Linked DNA regions of Homo sapiens: all the other regions are linked to region 3. Evidence: promoter capture Hi-C in 16 types of primary human blood cells and fetal thymus (Javierre and others, 2016). All regions are on one chromosome and are shown on one strand. Each heading gives the region's core, a stretch centred on a gene start or on the middle of the fragment in contact. The rest is flanking DNA. Distances are from core to core; before and after follow the strand shown.

The links. The method cuts DNA at HindIII sites, captures the fragments that hold promoters and counts their contacts. A CHiCAGO score of 5 or more calls a contact.
Region 1: a contact is called between a fragment that was not itself captured here and the fragment with the promoter of MYO18B in region 3, in 1 of 17 cell types (fetal thymus). The highest score is 5.6, in fetal thymus.
Region 2: a fragment that was not itself captured here is called in contact with the fragment with the promoter of MYO18B in region 3 in 1 of 17 cell types (total B cells); the score reaches 5.3 in total B cells.

The regions. Positions count from the first base shown.
Region 1 is chr22:25,440,540-25,443,256 of GRCh38, reverse strand. No RefSeq gene overlaps it. Among named protein-coding and RNA genes, the nearest start is that of MIR6817, 14 kb to the left of the region's middle. The HindIII fragment of the contact is 315 bases long and covers 1,127-1,441 here.
Region 2 is chr22:25,475,830-25,478,529 of GRCh38, reverse strand. It overlaps LOC124905094 (a long non-coding RNA gene), which reads right to left. Exons shown (of 2, transcript XR_007068036.1): 1 at 926-2,700; 2 at 1-342. Among named protein-coding and RNA genes, the nearest start is that of MIR6817, 22 kb to the right of the region's middle. The HindIII fragment of the contact is 3,329 bases long and covers 1-2,700 here.
Region 3 is chr22:25,740,903-25,743,611 of GRCh38, reverse strand. MYO18B (myosin XVIIIB) reads right to left here and starts at 1,424. Exons shown (of 44, transcript NM_032608.7): 1 at 1,319-1,424. The HindIII fragment of the contact is 14,245 bases long and covers 1-2,709 here.

The sequences.
Region 1 (2,717 bases), core at 35-2,534, 300 kb after region 3:
GATCAGTGTAACAAAGTTTGTTGGTACATTCGCCTACTGAAGAACATAAAGGTTGCTTTCAATGTGGGCAGTATGGATAAAGCTACCATAAACATTCCTGTGGACTTTTTAGTACAGACATAATTTTTTTTTTTTCTGAGACAGAGTGTTGCTCTGTCGCCCAGGCTGGAGTGCAGTGGTGCGATCTCAGCTCACTGCAACCAATGTCTCACAGGTTCAAGCAATTCTCCTGCCTCAGCCTCCCGAGTAGGGAGGCCCAGCCCATACATAATTGTTTAATTAAACTGGGTAAATACTTAGGATTGTGATCACTTACTTATATGATAAGACTACATAAGAATTTGGTAGGGTTGCTGGGCACGGTGGCTCATGCCTTTAATCCCAGCACTTTGGGAGGCTGAGGCAGGCAGATCACGTGAGGTCAGGAGTTCGAGACCAGACTGGCCAACATGGTGAAACCCTGTCTCTACCAAAAATAAAAAAATTAGGCTGGGCGCGGTGGCTCATGCCTGTAATCCCAGCACTTTGGGAGGCTGAGGCGGGCGGATCACAAGGTCAGGAGATCAAGACCATCCTGGCTAATACAGTGAAACCCCGTCTCTACTAAAAATACAAAAAAAAATTAGCCAGACGTGGCGGCATGCGCCTGTAGTCCCAGCTGCTGGGGAGGCTGAAGCAGGAGAATGGCGTGAACCCAGGAGGTGGAGCTTGCAGTGAGCCGAGATCGCGCCACTGCACTCCAGCCTGGGCGACAGAGCGAGACTCCGTCTCAAAAAAAAAAAAATACAAAAATTAGCCAGGTGTGGTGGCATATGCCTGTAGTCCCAGCTACTCAGGAGGCAGAGGCAGGAGAATAACTTGAACCCAGGTGGTGGAGGCTGCAGTGAGCCAACACTGTGCCACTGCACTCCAGCCTGAGCAACATGGCAAGACTCCATCTCCAAAAAAAAAAAAAAGAATTTGGTAGGATTTACCAGTAAAACCATCTAAGCCTGGTGCTTTTTTTTTTTTTGGAAAAGTTACTGATTGATTCAATGTCTAAAATTGATACAGGTTTATTCAGTTTATCAATTTCTCCTTGGTGAGTTTTATAGTTTCTGCCTTTGAAGGAATCGGTTCCTAAGCTTATCACATTTCTGGGCATAGATTTTCTCAAAGTATTCCCTCATGGTCTTCTCAATGCCCATAGAATCACAAATGATGACCTCTCCTTTAGTTATTAGTACATTATGACTTCCTTTCTTCATGGTTAGCCTGCCTGGAGGTTTATTGATTTTTTTTTTTATCTATTCATAGAAACAGCTGTTGGTTTTGATAACTTTCTCTGTTGATTTTTGATTTTTCATTCCATTGATTTCTGCAGTAATTATTGCTTTTGCTATTCTTCTGTCTGCTTTCTATAACACTGCTCTGTTTTGTCTGGTTTTCTAATGTGAAAGCTTAGGTTATTGACTTTAGGTCTTTCTTATTTTCTATCACATGGCATTCAGTTATAAATTTCCCTCCGAGCCCTGCTTTGACTGCATCCCACAGATCTTGACAAGGTACATTTTTATTTCATTTTGTTTAAAATATTTTTTCAGCTGTGTGTGGTGGCTCATGCCTGTAATCCAACACTTTGGGAGGCCGAGGTGGGCAGATCACAAGGTCAGGAGATTGAGACCATCCTGGCTAACACCGTGAAACCCCATCTCTACTAAAAAATACAAAAAATTGCCTGGCATGGTGGCTCACGCCTGTAATCCAGCACTTTGGGAGGCTGAGGTGGGCGGATCACTTGAGGTCAGGAGTTCGAGACCAGCCTAGCCAACATGGTGAAACACTGTCTCTACTAAAAATACAAAAATTAGCCGGGTGTGGTGGTGTGCACCTGTAGACCCAGCTACTCGGGAGGGTGAAGTGGGAGAATCGCTTTGAACCTGGGAGGCGGACATTGCAGTGAGCTGACATTGCACCGCTGCACTCCAGCCTGGGTGACAAGAGTGAAACTCCATCTCAAAAAATATATATGTATTTTTACAACTTCATTGAGGCATCTTCTTTGATCCATGTGTTTTGCAGAGTACATGATTTAATGTCCAAATATTTGGAGGTTTTCCATTTATCTTTCTATTACTGAATTCTAGTCTAATTTTGTAATGCTATGAAAGCATATTTTAGAAATTTCATTCATTTAAATAAGTTGTGGTATTATTTTATGGCCCACAATGTTGCCTTTTTTTTTTTTTTTTTTTTTTTTTTTAGAGGAGTCTTGCTCTGCTGCCAGGCTGGAGTGCAATGGTGCAATCTTGGCTCACCACAACCTCCTTCTCCTGGGTTCAAGTGATTCTCCTGCCTCAGCCTCCCAAGTAGCTGGGATTATAGGCATGTGCCACCAGGCCTAGCTAATTTTATATTTTTGGTAGAGAGGAGGTTTCTCCATGTTGGTCAGGCTGGTCTCGAACTCCCGACCTCAGGTGATCCGCCCGGCTCGGCCTCCCAAAGTGCCGGGATTACAGGCATGAGCCACCAGGCCCAGTGGTCTGTCTTTTTAAATCTCTGTTCTTGGCCAGGCACGGTGGCTCACGCCTGTATTCCCAGCACTTTGGGAGGCTGAGGTCGGCAGATCACAAGGTCAGGAGATTGAGATCATCCTGGCTAACACGGTGAAACCCCGTCTCTACTAAAACATATAAAAAAATTAGCCAGGTCTGGTGGCAGGCACCTGTAGTCCCAGC
Region 2 (2,700 bases), core at 10-2,509, 260 kb after region 3:
CACAGCATTCGTATCTATTGCTGCAAGCAAATCTACCCCAGAACTTGGCAACTTAAAACAATAAACAGTTGTTGTCTCACAGTTCCTGCGGGTCAGAAATTCAGGAGCAACTTTAGTCTGAGCAGTTCTGACTCTGGGTCTCTCATCAGGTTGCAGTCAGGATGTCAGCTGCAGCTGCAGTCTCATCTGAAGACTGAACTGGGGCTGGAGGAGCTGCTTCCAAGATAGGCCACTCACACAGCTGCTGGCTGGAGATCACAGGTCCTCACCACATGGGTCTCTCCACTGGGCTGCTTGAATATCCCCACGACATGGCAGCTGGCTTCCCTAGAGTGGGTGATCCTCAAGAGAGCGAGGAGGGAGCCACAATGTCTTTTATGACCTTGCCTTGGAAGTTGCACACCATCACTTCCACTTTGTTCTATTCATTAAAAGGGAGTCAGTAAGGCTAGCCCACACTCAAGAGATGTAGAATTAGGCTCCATCTTTTGAAGGAATTATCAAAGACTGTGTGAACATATTTTAAACCAGCACAGACAATATGATATAATGCAAAACTTGCCTCCAATTCTTTACCCTTCTTTGTATTCTCACCCTTGCCAAGCGACTTTGCAGTTCCTCCCGTTAAAAGAACAGAGTACCATTTCCCACCTATTGACCCTGGGTTTGGCCCTGTGACTTGCTAGGGTCAATAGAATGAGGCAGGAGTGACTCTGTGTGGTCCTGAGTCTAGGCCTCAAGAGACTTTGTGTGTTTCTGCTCACCCCCTTGCACTCCTGCCATGAGCAGGAGGGGAATATGCCAAGGCTAGTCCACTGATCCCAGGACAGGATGAGAGACACATGGATGAGCACACAGCTGCCCAGCTGAGCCCAGCCTGGCTCAGCCAACCCACATTAGACATGCGAGCTAAATCAACACTTACTGTCCTACAGCACAGAGATTTGGGGGATTGTTTGTTACACAGCATTACCATCACCACACTTAACTGACAGAGGCATGTGGGCTTGAAAGTCAGCCAGTCTTGGCTTCAAGTGTCAGCTCCCCCACTCTTCAGCCACGTGACCCTGGACAAAGCACTTCACTTCCCTGAGCCCCCAGCGACCTCATCTGTAAAATGGGTATCATGACATCACCTCTCTCATAGAGGCTTTGTGATGATTAAGATCATGCCAGTAAAGTGCTTTGAGCACCATCCTGCCCCATTGTGATTATTAGGAATGACACATCTGGGCCTATTGTCCCAATATTGATGTGCAGCCAACAGTAGGATTAATTCTCTAGCTCAGACACCTGCTATAGCTCCCTAGTTCCAGGTTCTCCAGTGTGGTCTCCCAAGGCTCCCTTCCCCCTCTCATGCTCACTGACCACTCACCCTCAGTCTCTTACCAGCCAGGACAGGCAGCTGATGAACATCTTGGACCCAGAGCTCCAGCCCCACACACCCGTGACCTTCCCTCCACACCAGGCCACCTCGTTGTCCCTGCTCAGCTCCTATGAGACTGTGGGACAGTCTCTAACCTCCCTGGGCAACTCATGTAGGGGTGGATGGCACAGGCTATTGAGTCAGCCACACTGGGCTCTGAATTCTGCCTTCACCACTTACCAGCTGGGTGACTTTCGGAAGTGATTGTACCTCTCTAGACTTCTGTTTACTCACCTGCAAAATGAGGGTCATTATAATACTTAGTTTATCAGGTAGTTGTGGGGATTTGATACTATCAGACATATAAAATCATTCTCCTATGCCAGGCACGTTTAAAGTGTAAGTACTGGTAGTTAGCTAACATTTACTACAACTAACAATAATGTCTCCATCTGTGAATGAAGGGGCTGGATTTGTCTAAAGTTTCTTTGGACACTGACGTTGGAAGCATAAGCTGAAGGGTTTCTGTGTGTGGGAGTACAAGGAGAAGAGTCCCCATGGACAGAATTCCAGGTTGTCACTTCCAACACTATTATCTGCTTTACATACTGGGATGCTTTATGTGAGGTTATCCAGGAAACAATTTCTTTGCTTAAAAAAAAAAAAGTTTGGGGCCAGGTGCGGTGGCTCATGACTGTAATCCCAGCACTTTGGGAGGCTAATAGGGGCAGATCACCTGAGGTCAGGAGTTCGAGACCAGCTTGACCAACATGGTGAAACCCCATCCGTCTCTACTAAAAATACAAAATTAGCAGGGCGTGGTGGCACATGCCTGTAATCCTAGCTACTTGGGAGGCTGAGACAGGAGAATCACTTGAACCTGAGAGGCAGAGGTTGTGGTGAACCAAGATTACACCATTGCACTCCAGCCTGGGCAACGAGAGCTAAACTCCATCTCAAAAAAAAAAAAAAGAAAAAAAGTTTGGAAACCACTGGATCAAGTGGTCTTTAAGGGCCTTCCCGGCTTTCCCTTTTGGGATTTCACTGCAAGAAGCCAACTAAAGGCTGAGCAGTGGGTACAAGGGGCTGCAGCGCTTAAGTTCAGCCTCTAGAAACTTCAAGGGCCAAGCAAAAGTCATTCCCTGGCTCCAGGCGTGGTGCAGTGCCTCTATGATCGCCACCCCCCGGAACACCCACTCTCTGATGGCTTCTGTCCTCCAGACCTCGCCATGCTCTGTTTCCTTTTGTGTATTTAAAACCCACTTCTTGGCTCCCAGCCACAGTCTGCTAGAAGTTAACAATGTGGAGCGGGGAGGTTGAAGACGCAAATCAAA
Region 3 (2,709 bases), core at 175-2,674:
TCTCCTCCCTCCTCCACCCACTTGGCCTTTTCTTTTGGCCTTTTCCTTTGCTATTATTCTTCTCCTCCTTCTTCTCTTTCTCCTCCTGCTTTTTTCCTCCTCCTCCTTCTCTTCTTCTCCTTCTCCTCCTCCTCTTCCTTCTTTTCTCTCTCTCCTCTCCACTATTATTTTCTAGAACTCATCCATAGCCTAAGAGTATATAGACCCCTCTCTTTTCTGCTCCCAAGGTACACACTGGACATGGTACCCAGGCATAGGAGAATACAACTTAGGTCAGCAATGGATACAGCACCCAAGGCCACCATTATCCTTGTTGGAGTCTAGAAGCCCTAGTGGGACACTCAGCCTCCATGAGCTGGTGCACTGAATGAGGCAGCATCTTTTTGGACAGCCACAAAGTGAAAGTAACAGCCTCGTCGTATTCCAGGCCCTACAGGATAGAAGCCCAGATCCCCACACTTGCGGGTTGAGGCCAGACTGGACAGCTTGGAGCCGACTGGGAGCCGACTGGGCTCCCCATTCCGGGCCTCCCCACTCCTGGCCTCCTCCATGGAAAAGCTGCAGGAAGGCAGCAGCCCAGAGGCCTGTAGCTGGTGAGGTCTTCTCCTCTCCTGGGAGAGAGCTCCATGTCAAAGCATAGCCCCCTTCTGCCCCACTATGGGGCCACTGGGACCTGTGAATCTTCTTCATTCAGAGAAATGCCTGCTATCCGGGGTGCCAGATAAGACACCTTCCCTCAGACAGAGCTCAAGGAAGGTGGCATGAAATTGAAACCTTCAGCCATGAACTTCCATTGCCCTTCCCCCAACACTCATACATGCTTAATTTGCAGTTTAAAAAAGAACATTAAAATTAACATTTCGACTCAACAGCGTTGTTAACACGAAAGGGGAAGCCTGGCTCTTCCCCGACCATAACTGAACACCAGTGAAGCAGAAATTACTGGTAGTTGAGGAAAAATATAAACCCTGACGTCTGCGGGCAAAGATTCACAGTGGAGATTAACTCATGATTCTAAACACATTTTTAAAAATTATTAGCGAACAGCTGGGGCCTGAGGAGAGTGATTCTTACGAATGTCCATTTGCCCCAGCATTTTGTTCTCAAATCCTTCCACCGAAACACTCTTGTTTTCAAAGTGAGCAGCACGGGCAACAGGCAAAGGAATCAGGCCTCGGAAGCTCTCAACACCAGAAAGGCCTAAAATAGACCAAAAGACCGGAGGCCTGCCACCGCAGCCCCCAGCAGCGCATTCCGGAAAATTAAAACTCGCCGATCCGCTCGCAAGGTGCCCGTCTAAAACCCAGCCCAATAGTACCTTCTGCAAAGAGGACACAGATCACAGGAACCACGACTGTCTAAGACGTCTCCCCGGGTGGCCGCGAAGGGACCCCACCGAGCCGGGAAAGCAGGAGCGAAGGAGCACCCTCTCCACACACACCGACACACATCCCTTCCCCTTACTGCCCCTCCCCGACCCGTCCTCCCCCCACCCTCCTTCTGGGCCAATGTGATAGCAGCAGCTGAGTCGACCAGTCATTTCTAAAATTAGCTTGTGAGCTCCAGGTCTGGCCAGGAGACGGCAGCCCGGGGTGGCCGTTGACCAGGCAGCAGAGACCATGGACATATTTGGTGGCCCCTGAGCAGGGAAGGGGACAGCTCTGGACACAAGCACATGCTCTCTCGTCATCCCTGTCCCAGGGCAGGGCCACACACCCACACTCCCGCCTCTGCCCACACAGATAACCAGAGGTTGCAGGAACTGTTTGAGGAGGAGAGCTGGCCGGTTCTACATTCCAGGCAGACTCTGGAAGAAAATAACTTGAATGAATGCTGGTGCGTCGTGGTAAACAACCAGTGCATGTAAACATACCTTATGCTTAGGTAGTGGTTATCGCATGCCACACACCGAGGGCTTTCATGAACTCACTTAATGTTCCCTATGAGGTAGGGTTTTTCCCCAGCCCCACTTTACAAGTGGGGAAATTGAGACACAAAAAGTTAACCAACTTGCCCAAGGCCATGGAGAGCCAGAATTCAAACCCAGGCTGTGCGGGCCGTAGAGGAAACAGACACAACAGCAAACTAGGGGCTATAAAAAAGTGCTTTGGGCCTGGCACGGTGGCTCACGTCTGTAATCCCGGCACTTTGGGAAGCCGAGGTGGGCATATCACGAGGTCAGGAGATTGAGACCATCCTGGCTAACACAGTGAAACCCCGTCTCTACTAAAAATACAAAAACAAAATTAGCCGGGCGTGGTGGTGGGCGCCTGTAGTCCCAGCTACAGGCGGAGCTTGCAGTAAGCCGAGATCGCGCCACTGCACTCCAGCCTGGGTGACAGAGAGAGACTCCATCTCAAAAAAAAAAAAAAAAATCAGCTGGGTGGGGTAGTGGTTGTCTGTGATCCCAGCTACTTGGGAGGCTGAGGCAGGAGAATTGCTTGAACCCAGGAGGCGGAGGTTGCAATGAGCTAAGGTCACGCCACTGCACTCTAGCCTAGGCGATAAGAGACTCTATCTCAAAAAAACAACAACAAAAAAAGTGCTTTGTCCACTGCCTAAAAGGAGCAAAGTACAGACTTCAATAAATTGGATAAACCATGCAGGTCCATGCAGCTAGCAAAGGGTAGAGTCATGACTCAAATCCAAGTCTTTCTGGTTCCAAAGACCGCAATCAGCCCAGCATGATACTGCTCCTGTGAGAATTGT